Regions from separate parts of the Homo sapiens genome. Here all the other regions are linked to region 1. The links are contacts of gene promoters, found by promoter capture Hi-C in human tissues and cell types (Jung and others, 2019). All regions are on one chromosome and are shown on one strand. Each heading gives the region's core, a stretch centred on a gene start or on the middle of the fragment in contact. The rest is flanking DNA. Distances are from core to core; before and after follow the strand shown. Region 1 holds the start of TLN2 (talin 2). Region 2 overlaps TLN2 (talin 2). Region 3 overlaps TLN2 (talin 2).

Region 1 (4,342 bases), core at 791-3,290:
ATCACAAAGCAGAGGTCACAGTCTACTTCAAAAGTAAAGATTCCCCACTCCCGCTTCCCCCTCACTCCAGAGAGGTCGCTGCCTCCAAGCTCTGGAGAAGGGAGGTCAGCGTGCAACCTTACAATGCCACAGCTTAACACACCCAGGTATTATTAATGGAAAAGTAAGTGGTACTTACAGCACCAGGGCAATTTACGTGTATTTTGGGGACCACTTCTCCAAGACATCATCCCTACCCAACCGTCTTTAATTATGTCTTTGACAACGCCAACACTTCAGTTCATTCCTCTCTCATCTTCTGGAAAGAACCAGAAGTTTTCACTATGAGACACAGGAATTCTGGCCTAAGTTGTCCCAGCTCTTCAAGGACAGCAAGAATCCAAGTTTCCCCACGCGTCACCTGAAGCCCCAACTTCTGGAAACGCCCTCCTTTCCTCGCCTCTACGAGCTGCGAGAGCAGAACACGCAGCCGCGGGCGCTACTGCTGTCGCCGCTAAAGCCAAAGAGGCGACTGGAAGCTCAGGCTGTTCGGCGGCCTCGGGGCGACCACAGGCCAGGCCCTGGTCCTGATCCACGAACCAAGGCGCCTCCTCTCCCCCAGGAAGTGAGCTACTGCGCCCCTCGGAGCACCCAGGCGAGCCCGGGCACCGGGAGAACGCTCTACACTCGGCGCCCAGCCCCGGGACGCCGCCCAGCGCACGGCTCCGGCTGAGCACCCGGGCAGCGGTAGCTGCGGGGAAGAGGGGCGTGTTCCCTGAGCCTCGGAGCCCCAAGGCCGGGTCCAGGCGGGACAGAGGAAGGCGGCAAGCCCAGCACGCTGTCCGTGACGGCGGCTCTCGTTCCCAAGCCCCGCCGGCTGGCGTGGCGACGCGCTGTAGTCCGCGCGCCCTTGCGGGGACAGCAGTCGTGCGCGCCTTGTGCGGCCGCCTCCGCGCCTGCCTCGGCGCGCAAACTTTCCCGGCGACAACCGATCAGGCCTCTCCGACTGGGGCGCGGGGCTCTCCCCGGGACCCAGAAACTGCTCGCCCCCTCCCCTCCGCAGTCAAGACCCACTGAAAATATGGCGCCCTCGAAAGTCGTTCCTCGGTCCCCTCAGGGATCCCGAAATACTCGTCTCCAGGTCCCTCCAGCTTCCAATGGGCGCAAAATTTCAGCTCGTGGGACCGAGGAAGGAGAGGGAGCCGCTGAGTCTGTGTGAGGCCAGCCGCACTGGATGCAAAGCCTGGCCCCGCTCTCGGCCCGGCACTGCCCCCGTCGCTCAGCGGCCAGCAGTTCGCCCGTGGCGAGATTGCCAAGTAAAGGGCAGTCGTGGGATCGGCAGGTCTGAGTGTCCGGCACCGGAGAAGGAACTCCGCACTGGCGGGCTGTCTTAGCCCAGAGCCTCGGCGGGAGACTTGTTTGCAAAGTGGCGCTGGAGTCCCGGCGGCCAGTGCTGGAATGAAGCTGCTCCTCCAGCGCCAACTCTTCTGGCGCGGGGGCCCGGCTGGGGTCGAGGGGACACTCTATGCAGGCGGGGCCGCTTTTCAAAGCCCAGTTACCGGAAACCCAGCGAGAGCCCCGGAGGGGACCGGCTGCCCACGGCCAGGAATCCGCTCTCTGGCGCCGACTGCGAGGCTGTTTGCAAACCGCTGCGCCCGGGTCCGGTGCAGTGAAACATACATGTGCAATAGACAGGTGCATTAATTTCATTTTATTTTTATTTTCCTGCAAGAAGCCCTCCTAGACCATCAAATCTGGGAGCTTTACGGGTTTTTCCTGCATTGGCATCACTCACGAGAAGCAAAAGGGAGGAAAAAAAACCCCACATTTTCCTTCTGGAGAGGGGAGGGAAAAGACACGAGAAATTCATGCAACGTGCATGCAGCTGGAGGAAGAGGAAAACCCGAGTGAGCCGTGCGCCTTACCGGGGGATGCATTTACTGTCTCATTGCAGAGCGCCTGCCCGGGAGTGCAGCCCGCGTCCCCCCGCGCGCTGGGCGACCACTCCGCTCCCGCAGCCGCCTCAGCCGCTGCCGCCGCCGCTGGCTCCGGGCGCGGAACAAGAGCCGAGGGCGAGCGCGAGCGCACTGCCCGAGAGCGCTGGGAGGGCAGGAAGCGCGTCATCATTCGGGGACGGCGCGGCGCCGGTCCGGCCGCGGCGCCGCGCGGCACCGGGGTGGGCCGCCACCGAGGCTCAGGCGCCCGTCCTGGGTTTCCTCCCACGCGTGGTGATGCTGAAAGGGTCCGCGAGGGAAGGTGATGCACCGGCCGAGCTGTCACGGGGAAGGGAGGCTCGGGGTGACCCCGGCTTCCCAGAATTGGGGCTCTGCTGTGTAAAGGGGATGACTGCAGGACACAGCGTCTTGTAGGCTGGGGCCCCTAGGTCCGCAGAGTGCCCTCTCGGGACCTCTGGCCCGGTCCTGGGGGAAGCGAGCTGTGGCTAACTGGAGGGCCGTGGTGGGCGGTGGGGTCTTGCTGCGAAGCGGAGGGCCGTGACCCCAGGCGAGCCTGCTCCTTTCAGCACAAGGACCCTGAAACCTTGCTGGTCAGGTGTCACTTAGGTATTTAGAGAACGACTATAGGGATGAGTGGCGGTAGGGGCGTGCTGTGTTGATAAGAAGAAAATAATTCACTCCTGCTTGCCATGCCCTGAATAAAGTCAGTTATATACCTCTTACATTTACAGTCATTATTAGTAAATACTGTAAATACCATGGAACAATGTGAAGGTTATTCAAGGGGGTGAGGAGACAAAACACTATGTACCGTATGGTCCCGTTTTTAAAAACTGTGATTTATGGAGAAAGGCAGAAAAGACTGGATAGATAAACACCAATAAGTCTCTCAGTGATTGGTGGAATTGTGAGTAATTTTACTTTTTTATTTATCTGTAAGGGACACATTAGTAATTTAAAAAAACAAGAATTAGCCATGACCCCTTTACTCCTAGTACTTTGGGAGGCCAAAGCAGGAAGATCTCAAGCCCAAGGAGTTTAAGATCGGCCTGGGCAATATAGCGAGACCTTATCTCTACAAAAAAAATTAAAAATCAGCCGGGTGTGGGGGCGCATGCCTGTAGTCCCAGTTACTGGGGAGAATGGTGGGAGGATCGCTTGAGCCCGGGAGCTCGGGGGCTGCATGAGCGGTGATCCTACCACTGCACTCCAGCCTGGATGACAGAGCGGGACTCTGTCTCAAAAAAGAAAAAAAAAAGGAAAGACGACATTATTTCCATCCCAATACAGAATGGACCAGGAAATAGGTAGCAAATCTATTCAGTTACTCAAATGGAACTGCTGGCAACTTTTTAGTGTTTCTCAGAGAAAGAAACTGCTGTCACCATAAACCGGAGACTGAATTGATTTTGTAAATTGAAATTATTTTGAATAAGTCCGTTGGAACATTGGATAAGGCTGGACATTCTGTGAGAACAATACCCTGTCCTTAACCAGGCTGATGAACCGGACTGTATGTATCATAGCAGCAAAGATAACCTTAGGGTACAACTTTGTAACTTATTGCAGAATATAAACTGTAAAGCTAACAAAGTATACATTATCAATGCACAGTGAGAGAACCAATTACTTGGCAACTTGAGAAAGTCCTAAAAATTGCAGGGCACAATTTCTCATTGTACAGGTAAAGTATTTTTGTTCACCACGCCTTTTTAAACATTCACCAGTCTCACAGAATAACTAGTGGTGGCAACAAGCCACCTCAGGGGTTGATTAAAAAGTACATGTTTATTGATTTCTGTATGAGCCTGGTAATAAGCTCACTAAATTAATGCCACCTAAATTGTTCCTTGGTTTACTAACAAAGAATAACCATATTTTTATGGTCCAAATGCCAGGTTTACATAAGAGGCTCATCAAGAAGGAAAGGAAAAAATGGTTGCAACTTAAGTGATTTTCCCCTTCCACTTAGTCCTCCGTTCATAGGGCCCAATAGCTTCCTATCAAGCATCTCAAAATCTTTCTGACACCTGGATTTCAAGATTTTCCATTACTTAATGCATCCTCTTGAAAGTATCCCCACACTTTTCCACTACCCATCAGCGGGATGCCATTCAGTAATGGAAGCTACATTCCATGAGAGCAAGAACCTCATCTGTATCTCTGTGCCTGAAGGAGCCTGACACATAGTATTTAATAAGTACTCAATAAAAATCTGCTTTATGAAAATAGCCTTATTTGTTCACTACCTATCTTACTAGTTCCTGAGATATTTGAAAAGTTATCTATTCTATTAGAGTGTCAGCAAAATTCTGGGATGCTGAGATCCTGTAGAGTTATAGCCTTGGTTTGGTTCAGTTACTTTTCAAAGTTCCAGCTAAATCCTAAGGCATTCACAAGGGTGAGGT
Region 2 (4,342 bases), core at 1,250-3,749, 110 kb before region 1:
CCACAACTCCGTAAAGCTTCCTTCAGCTGAAGAAACTTGTGGCAATGCCTTCCAATCATCCATGCATTACACAGGCATATTCTTAAAGGTAGAGCCACCTGTGACTAGTTCTCCTATAAGGCCCATCATAGGCTTAGGACAAAGAGAGCGAGGAAGGTCACAAAGCCATATCACATGCAGTGGTATCCAACCCACTGATACCAAGGTGCCCAAACTATATCTTAATTGGCTTTCAGCTAGTATCTTGGTATTTGACCCTCCATGGAAATGATGCCCATTCACTAAGTTCCCTACCTTGGAAATAATCATCTCAAAAATCAGGCATAAGGCTTACATGATTATTCAAAATAGATACTTAAAATTAAATAAAAAACATGAAAAGCCCAGTGAGCCTTCATTAGTCAGAGCATGCAATCATCTGCCACCTTCAAATCCTGTTGATATAACTATGTCCAATTAAACAAAAAACAACATCCAAAGGTTCTGTCACATCAGTGTGGATGGGTCCCTCTAATTGTGACTATTCCTTTCCAAAAAATATTTGTCAGCCACTTCTGAAATCCAGATATTCTGCACCACAGCAAGTGGTCTTACTATTCAAAGTGTGACAGAATCATGAAAAGCCCTAACCAGGAATTAACGTTTTCCCGGGGCAGTGTGAGTGCAAGCTTCATTTTCTGAGAGCCAACCAAACAACTAAGTGTATCCAGCAACCTTGTGGGAGGGTCGCTCTTTTGGTACAAGTCTATCAAGGATGAAATTGATGGGGGTTCTCAATGGCCAGTCATGAGTGTCCACCCCAGCCCTGCCCTTGGCCTCAGCTGGAGGCTTGAGAAATTCAGGCAAAGAGAGACACATGTGGCCTGCTCAGGAGAAATAGGAACAAAAGGGACTTGCATAGCCCTGATGCCAAAAGATGACCCAATCCACTTCTTTTGGCCAAGTAGAAGCAAGAAGTAGAGATAAAAGTTCCTCCTTTTTTTAAACAATGAACAGAGGGAGGCTTACCTGTCCCAAGCTCCTTCAGCCTTCTGAGAAAGGTCATTTATCTTTTGCTCAATGAGATGGTCTATAACATGCCCCATGGCGCATTGCACATTTAAGCAGAATATTTCTAAGCTCTGAAACTTGCACAAGATGCGTTTTTCAGTGGCACTATTTGTGAGGACCAGAAGTGCCCTGGCGGGACTTCAAGCCCCCTTAGGTTACCAAATTTTAAGCAAACAAAACTGTGTTGCTGCAGGGACTGTGGTGGGGCCTGCACACTCAGAAAAGATGGCCAAGAGCAGCCTGGGAGAATTGTCTTGAAACAATACTATCTTTCTTCTGCGTCTTTAACTGCTCAAGAAGAGTATGCATATTAAATAGCAGGAAAAAGTTGCCCAATTGAGGCAAAAATTCCTTTCCCAACAGCGCTCCCTCAAGAAGGAATTTCACATTGTGCCCAACTCCAAGTGGGCATTGATGTCACTTGAGATTGCCATAGCAGATATTCGGGTCTTTTCTCAGCCATTTCTCAGATAATTCTGCTTAATGAAATCTTTCTTCCCTTGCCTCCATTTACATTTGCCTACTATAAGCCTGGCTTTGTCTAGACACCAAGGGTCCAAAGGCCAGTTAGACTCTGCCTGACCCATCTGGAACTTAGTTTAAACATTCTAATCCACTGCAAAGGTGTCTTCTTGTTTTGCAGTATGGAGGCCAGTCACAATGCCTATGTACTGAGCACACTGGAGACAATGAATATTTGTTCCCTAGCAATCAAAGTTCTGTAGAGCAATTTGGGCCAGAAAGCCCTGCTGCATTCATTTTATTTATTTATTTATTTTTTGAGATGGAGTCTCATTCTTGTCACCCAGGCTGGAGAGCAATGGTGCAATCCCAGCTCACTGCAACCTCCATCTCCTGGGTTCAAGCAATTCTCCTGCCTCAGCCTCCTGAGTAGCTGGGACTACAGGCATGCGCCACCACACCTGTCTAATTTTTGTATTTTTTAGTAAAGACCGGGTTTCACTGTGTTGGCGAGGCTGGTCGTGAACTCCTGACCTCAGGTGATCTGCCCGCCTTGGCCTCCCACAGTGCTGAGATTACAGGTTTGAGCCACTGCGCCTGGCCTACATTCATTTTAAACAAGAGAAAACCACCAACGCCCACCATCTGTTTTGGACCTTCACTCCTCCTCCCTCACCTGAATTGTAATTTTGACTGTTTTTTTTGTTTGTTTGTTTGTTTCTTTGCTTGTTTTTAAAGAAACTTTGAAACTTTGCAGCCAGGAGCGGTGGCTTATGCCTGTAATCCCACCACTTTGGGAAGTCCAGGCGGGCAGATCACCTGAGGTCGGGAGTTCGAGACTAGCCTGACCTACATGGAGAAACTCCGTCTCTACTAAAAATACAAAATTAACCGGGCATGGTGGAACATGCCTGTAATCTCAGCTACTCTCGGGAGGCTGAGGCAGGAGAATTGCTTGAACCCAGGAGGTGGAGGTTGCGGTGAGCCAAGATCATGCCATCGCACTCCAGCCTGGGCAACAAGAGCAAAACTCCGTCTCAAAAACAAAGAAGAGAAACCTTGCTAATTTAAGGACTGGTAAAGTGGGGCAAACTACATTCATCAGTTGGCATGTTGGCCCTGTCTCCTTTCCCCTCAGTTTTAAAATACGTTTGCTTAAAAGAGGCTTGGTTTCAAGCCATATCCAGGCCATTTCTCTATTTATTTTATTTTTTTGGAGACACTGTGTAACCCAGGCTGAAGTGCAGTAGTGCAATCTCAGCTCACCTCAACCTCTGCCTCCTGGGCTCTAGCGATCCTCCCACCTCAGTCTCCCGAGTAGCTGGGACTACAGGTGAGCACCACCACGCCTGGCTAATTTTCGTATTTTTTGGTAGACACGGGGTTTTGCCATGTTGCCCAGGCTGATCTTGGACTCCTGAGCTCAAGTGATGTTCCCACCTCAGCCTCCCAAAGTGCTGGGATTATAGGCGTGAGCCCCTCTAGTCAATGTTTTGTAATAAATAAAAATAATGTCCCAGGTAGCAGAAAGAACAGATTGAAAATATAAACATGGCCTAGAAAAAAAAAATTCTGTCATCAAGTTTACTCCTAGAGACTTCCATAAAGTCCACACAGTAAGTCTTTGATTCTGTCATTAAGAAGTACAGTGGCAAAGACCATATCTTCTTGGTCTTTCACTAGTCATTAAGTCAGCAATGACTTTAAACTCTCCACATTCCACTAACTGACCTCTACTCTGTTTAACAAGAACAATAACCCCTGTACAGCTCTCTTTAGAGTGGGTAAATTCCTTTAATAGTTTCGCCAAATTCCTTTTAATAATTTTTCATGTCATTCACAGACTCTCCTGTTCCTAAAATGTAATGAATTGGTGACTGATTAGTATTTATATATGAAAAGAACTATAAGGAAAAAAAAAACCCTCCTAAGAAGCAAATTTTGTGGGAAAGATATCCCACCAGATACTGGGGGTCAGTAGATACGTGGATGTACCTCACTTTCCTGTGACAGACACTGGGATATCATCAGACTTACGGTGACCCCAGCTCTCTAGAACACAGCCACCGATACAGAAGCATGTTATTTTAAAATATCCCTTGGCAAATGAAGAGACTGTCCAGCAGCCCCTCACTTTCTAGGAAATCCAGATACTTTTGCCTACACTCAGAACTCTGATTACTGTATATGCATAATTCCAACAAACTCCTCAGGAGGCCTTCCAGGCAGATTCCAAGTAGCCAGTAAAACAACAACAGGCAAGTCAACCCTTGGGGAACTGACCAGTGACTACTCAAGGATCGAATACTAAAACTATACAAATGTTTAGGGTCAGCCTTGGCAGGATCTAACCATTCAGAATCATGAAGAGATACTTAGCAAATTCAGGTTAAGTAAGAAGAACCAGGTTATTTACTTCAGAATTTAAAAATCTAATTCTTATTTATATTTTTAACAGGTATAAAATTCCAGACTTTTTTTTCTTTTTTTTTTTTTTTTTTTTTGAGGCAGGGTCTCACGCTGTCACCCAGGCTGGAGTGCAGTGGCATGATCACGGCTAATTTTTGTACTTTTCGTACCAAAAGTTTCAACATGTTACCCAGGCTGCTCTCGAACTCCTGAGCTCAAGCGATCTGCCCACCCTGGCCTCCCAAAGTGCTGAGATTACAGGTGTGAGCCACCACACCTGGCCAAATTCCATACTTTAAATTTCTCAAGACAGGAAGCATGGGCCTTTCCTTGGCTTTAAAACAGCAAACCAAAAACTGTCCACGCTTGGTCAGCAGCACGGGGAAGCCAGAATGCTATATAACATAAAAGCAGCCAAAAC
Region 3 (4,342 bases), core at 1,161-3,660, 85 kb before region 1:
TTAAAGTTGCCATACAGGGGAGGGTCCTATCTGGGTCTAAGCTGAGGGTGGGTAAAAAGAAGAAAGTAACAAATAACCTAGGATGCAAATAATAAGCGACCCCATCTCGCCACTAGCTGTAAAATCCCACTTCTAGTCATGATGCAGGGGTTAAAAGCAAGAGAAGGAACTCCACATGAGGTCTGATAGTCCAGGCTGGATCCTGACTGCACACTCTCGCTGTGTGACCCACTGGGTGAGTTCCTTCAGTCCTGTCCTCTGTAAATCAGAGGCTGCACCTGCCTCCTGGGCTGCAGGGAGGGTTAAGTTACAAGAACGTGTGCCACACACTTAGCCCAAGGCCTAGGACACTGGAAGTACTCCGAGAATGCTGTTAGAGCTGTTAACTATTTAGGGCGAGAATCAATTTAGCTGCTTATGAAAGTAAAGCAACGTTTCTGAGAAGGTCTACTGCAGCAGCTGGACAATGTTGAGCCTGCAACGCCCCGCTCCCCTCTGCCCCCGCTGCACCCCCCCCTCCATCCCCCCCACCACCTGCCAGTATCAGGAGCACAACCCTTGGGCCAAGTTGCTGCTTGGACCCCAGGCTCTCCTTTGACAGCAGTGCCCTGCATCTGACCTGCCCTCAGTCTACCTGCTCGAAGGTTTCTGCCCCAGTCCCCAGCTTCCAGTATGGTCTCCATTCTCAACATCTCACTGCAAGTGCCCCATGGGCCCAGCAGATACAGTCTGCTCTTAAAAACCAAACATCCGCAGTATTTTCAGAAATGCTGACTTATACAGAACACACCCTACAGAGAGAGCCCATAGGATTCCACCAAGTGAATGTGAAAAGCACAACATTTAAGGGAGGGTTCAATGGACAAACCTACAACCTATGATAACCTTAAGGAGGACAAGCACATAGATGCAGGTGATGGTAACAGGTTCCCCTACTGTTCAATCAGGCTCACATCTCAGACCACTCAGTCTCCTGCAGCTAGAAGAGACTCCAAGGCCAGACAAAACCCTGAGGGTCTCCAGTAACTTTACCCACATCCACCCAGGCAGTTCAGCAAGAGTCACACTCCAGGACAAGTCTTATTTTCATCAAAAAGCTTACAGCCTTACTTCTCCAAGTGTGGTCTAGAAGGCAGCAGCATCACCTGTATCTTGTTAGAAATGCAGACTCTCAGGCCCACCCAGACCTACTGAGTTAGGATCTGTGTTTTAACAAGATGCCCAGGATGCTTTAGAGTAATTAGAACAAAGCACTCTGCCCAAATAGCATGACAGTTTACTTAGGCTTTTACTTGATCTCGTCTTTCTTCATGGATTGGAAGTTTCTAGACAGCATAGACTGTGCCTATCTCAGCTGCTGGTACATAGTAAATACTCAAGAAATATTTGTTGAATGAATGGATGAATAGGCAGTCTACTAACGACTAAAGAGATCTAACCTGTTTTAAGTGCAAAGACAGACACACGGAAGGATCAGAGACAGAAAGAGGATGCATACCTGGGGATGGAGGAAGACATTGAAACAAGGTAGTCAGATAAGCATCTCTAAAGGGGGTGGCATTAGGATGAGACATGATGGATGAGAAGGTACATGCCAGGCAAGAGGATGTTGGACAGAGGAAATGGCATCTGCATCTGCCACCATAAAGCGGGTGCTTTCTCGAAGGCCAGTAAAGGCAGGCCATTGTGGCTGGAGCAAAGTGAAAGAGAGGAAAGTGGTCAAAACTCCCCTAACTGCCAAAGAAGAGAATCAGGACTCGTAGGTTTGGCTCTGGTGATGGAACAAAGTAGCTCCAAGAAGGTAGATTCAGAAGGCCCCAAAACCATTATGACTGCTGGGGGCAACAGAAGGGCCCTGTACGGAGTCCCTGCTGCCATCTTCCAGGCTCTTGGAGTTGGGTGTGAGAGAGGCTGGCCACAGAGGGCAGGAGTCCATCAGCCAGACCTGGCTGGAGATGCCACAGGTCTAGAGCTGCTTGCGAAGTAGAAATGAAGATTACTCATGGTCTTCAACAAGTTGATCCAGAAACTTCTGGGCAGCCGAGCATCCGAGGGACAAGGAGGCCAGTCCAGATGTCACCCTGCAGCAGCGCACTGGCAGAGAAGACACAAATGACATGTGTCAGTGCAGGTAGCCGTGTCAGCGGGTGAGCGACATCCTCCCGGCACTGAACAACACTGCTGGGGTTCAGGTGACAAAGCAGGAGGAGGGAAAAATGCCACACAGGGTTCATGCTCCTGAGGCTCTGTGCAGCAACACAGCTGGCACCCTCTGCCTCCAGTTTTGGTGCCAGCCCACAAGCAGCAGCTCCAGAGAAGCCTCTCTGCAAATATCCCACCGTGGAGTCCAGTCATATGGCTGCCAAGGGTCCTTGGAAATACTCAGGCCTAAGCCCCTCTTTTCACAGATGAGAAAAGCCAAGACTCAGAAGATAGGCCTTGCCCTAAATCAGCAGCGAGGAACAGCAAGGCCAGGAATAGAATTGCAGAATCAAGTCTATAAAGCTTACATTTTACCTGTAAATTACCACTCTAATAAAACTCTGTTTCTAAACAAATGTTATTCTTACTCTGTCTGACTCCTAACTGAAGAGACAAAGCAGCCTGCAGTTCCAGATCTTAACCATGCCCCCAGTTCTCTCTCCTTAATCCCAAATGACTTGCACCAGCCAAACTGAAACTCCTGGTTTTCGTCAAAAACAAAGTTCAAGAAAGAACTGTTCACATTTGAGCAGGGGAAGAAAATCTAAAAATTGTAGAGGGAAACTGAAAAACTTTTTTCAAAAATCTGAATTTATGAGATATAAAGAATAAGAACAAGAAGAAAAGCTCTTGTTCCATACATCAGGTTTACCCACCCAAGACCAGAACCATCCCAGGAAATGCTTGGAGACCACAAAAAATCATGCATTTTAAAGGTTGGTGGGTTATTAATTCAAATATAATCATCCAAATAGTTGCCTCTTTCCCCTGCATTCTAGCTTCGGTTAGCCCTGACACATCAATGCAACCTCGAGCAGATCACACCTAACTTTGCAGATCTTCAGTCAACTCATCTATAAAACGAGGAGCGTGATAAAACTCAGGTGTCCTTCAGCTAGAAAATTCCAAAATTCTGTTACACTTTTGGAACAGAACTGAAAATTAATGTCCCCATTAAGTCGGCTTATACAAAGTTTATTTTCTTAACTTGAAGAAATGAAAGTCATTATAAATTTAAATTACCATATCTCTTAGGAAATAATTACTAAGTTGGTGTCACAGTGGTTGCATTCTGTTTCTAGGGAGTAAGCTTCAGCAATGACAAATCGTTAAACGATTCTTCAGGGAGACAGAGCCAAATACCCCACCCTCACTAAATGGGTATTTGGCTCTATTTCCCCAAAGGTCCATTATTATTTATAAGGCAAAAATTAGGGTTTCTTTTGCATAGCGTAGAACTCAGGCAGTGAGGTCATTTGTTTTGAAACTGCAGCAACCAGTCCCACTTTTTTTTTTTCCATTAGCATTCTAGTTACTCTGGGTCAAGAGAGTGAGATGCAGATTTCAGAGAACAGTCAAAGGCTGCAAGGCCACCCACAGCATCGTCAAGGATTCCACCTGGGACAGCCCGGAGTCTAACCTACAGCTCATTTTCCTTTCACTCTCAAACGTGAGAAGCCAATGACGACTCAGACACAAGCAAACCAAACATATTTCAAGGAATCGTCAACAGCCTCAGGGTCCATTTAAAAAACAAAACACTACCATAACCTCCACATTATTCCTTATTCTTTTTTGAGACAGGGTCTCACTCTCCCGTCCTGGCTGGAGGACAATGGTGCAATCATAGCTCACTGCGGCCTCAAACTCCTGGCTCAAGTGATCCTCCCATCTCAGCCTCCCGAGTAGCTAGGACTACAGGCATGCACTGCCACACCTGGCTAATTATTTTATTATTTTATTTTTTGTAGAGACAGGGTCTGACTATGTTGGTCTCAAACCCCCAGGCTCAAGCAATCCTCTCACCTCAGCCTCCCAAAGCACTGGGATTATAGGCATGTGCCACCAAGACTGGCCCATATTATCCCTTATTCTTACTGAGTGAAAAAGGGGTGGAGAAGGGATGACAAATTCCTCTGAGAATGATAGATGCTTTCACTCAAAAAGGAGAACATAGAGACAATTATGCCTTCAGTTTCAAGGATTCATGAGCCCTCTGAAATTTCTTTTCTGAACCTCAGGTTTAGGACCCCTGCTAAATTAACATGTTAAAAGGAATCCTCTTTTATAAGTCTCTCTGAATGCTGTACAATTCCTTTGTTTGTTCTGTTTTGTTTTGTTTTTAGTACAGACTTTCGCT

The links. The method cuts DNA at HindIII sites, captures the fragments that hold promoters and counts their contacts. A contact is called where the count stands out against the background at its distance.
Region 2: a contact is called between a fragment that was not itself captured here and the fragment with the promoter of TLN2 in region 1, in 2 of the 25 tissues and cell types used here (aorta and stomach).
Region 3: a contact is called between a fragment that was not itself captured here and the fragment with the promoter of TLN2 in region 1, in 3 of the 25 tissues and cell types used here (aorta, bladder and dorsolateral prefrontal cortex).

What each region holds. Positions count from the first base shown.
Region 1 is chr15:62,388,248-62,392,589 of GRCh38, reverse strand. It overlaps TLN2 (talin 2), which reads right to left and starts at 2,040. Exons shown (of 59, transcript NM_015059.3): 1 at 1,905-2,040. RefSeq lists enhancers at 1,018-1,632, 2,551-2,620 and silencers at 1,811-2,140, 2,188-2,384. The HindIII fragment of the contact is 23,885 bases long and covers 1-4,342 here.
Region 2 is chr15:62,497,828-62,502,169 of GRCh38, reverse strand. The region is part of intron 1 of TLN2 (talin 2); the gene reads right to left. Among named protein-coding and RNA genes, the nearest start is that of TLN2, 110 kb to the right of the region's middle. The HindIII fragment of the contact is 4,314 bases long and covers 343-4,342 here.
Region 3 is chr15:62,474,078-62,478,419 of GRCh38, reverse strand. All of the region lies in intron 1 of TLN2 (talin 2), which reads right to left. Among named protein-coding and RNA genes, the nearest start is that of TLN2, 86 kb to the right of the region's middle. The HindIII fragment of the contact is 4,440 bases long and covers 191-4,342 here.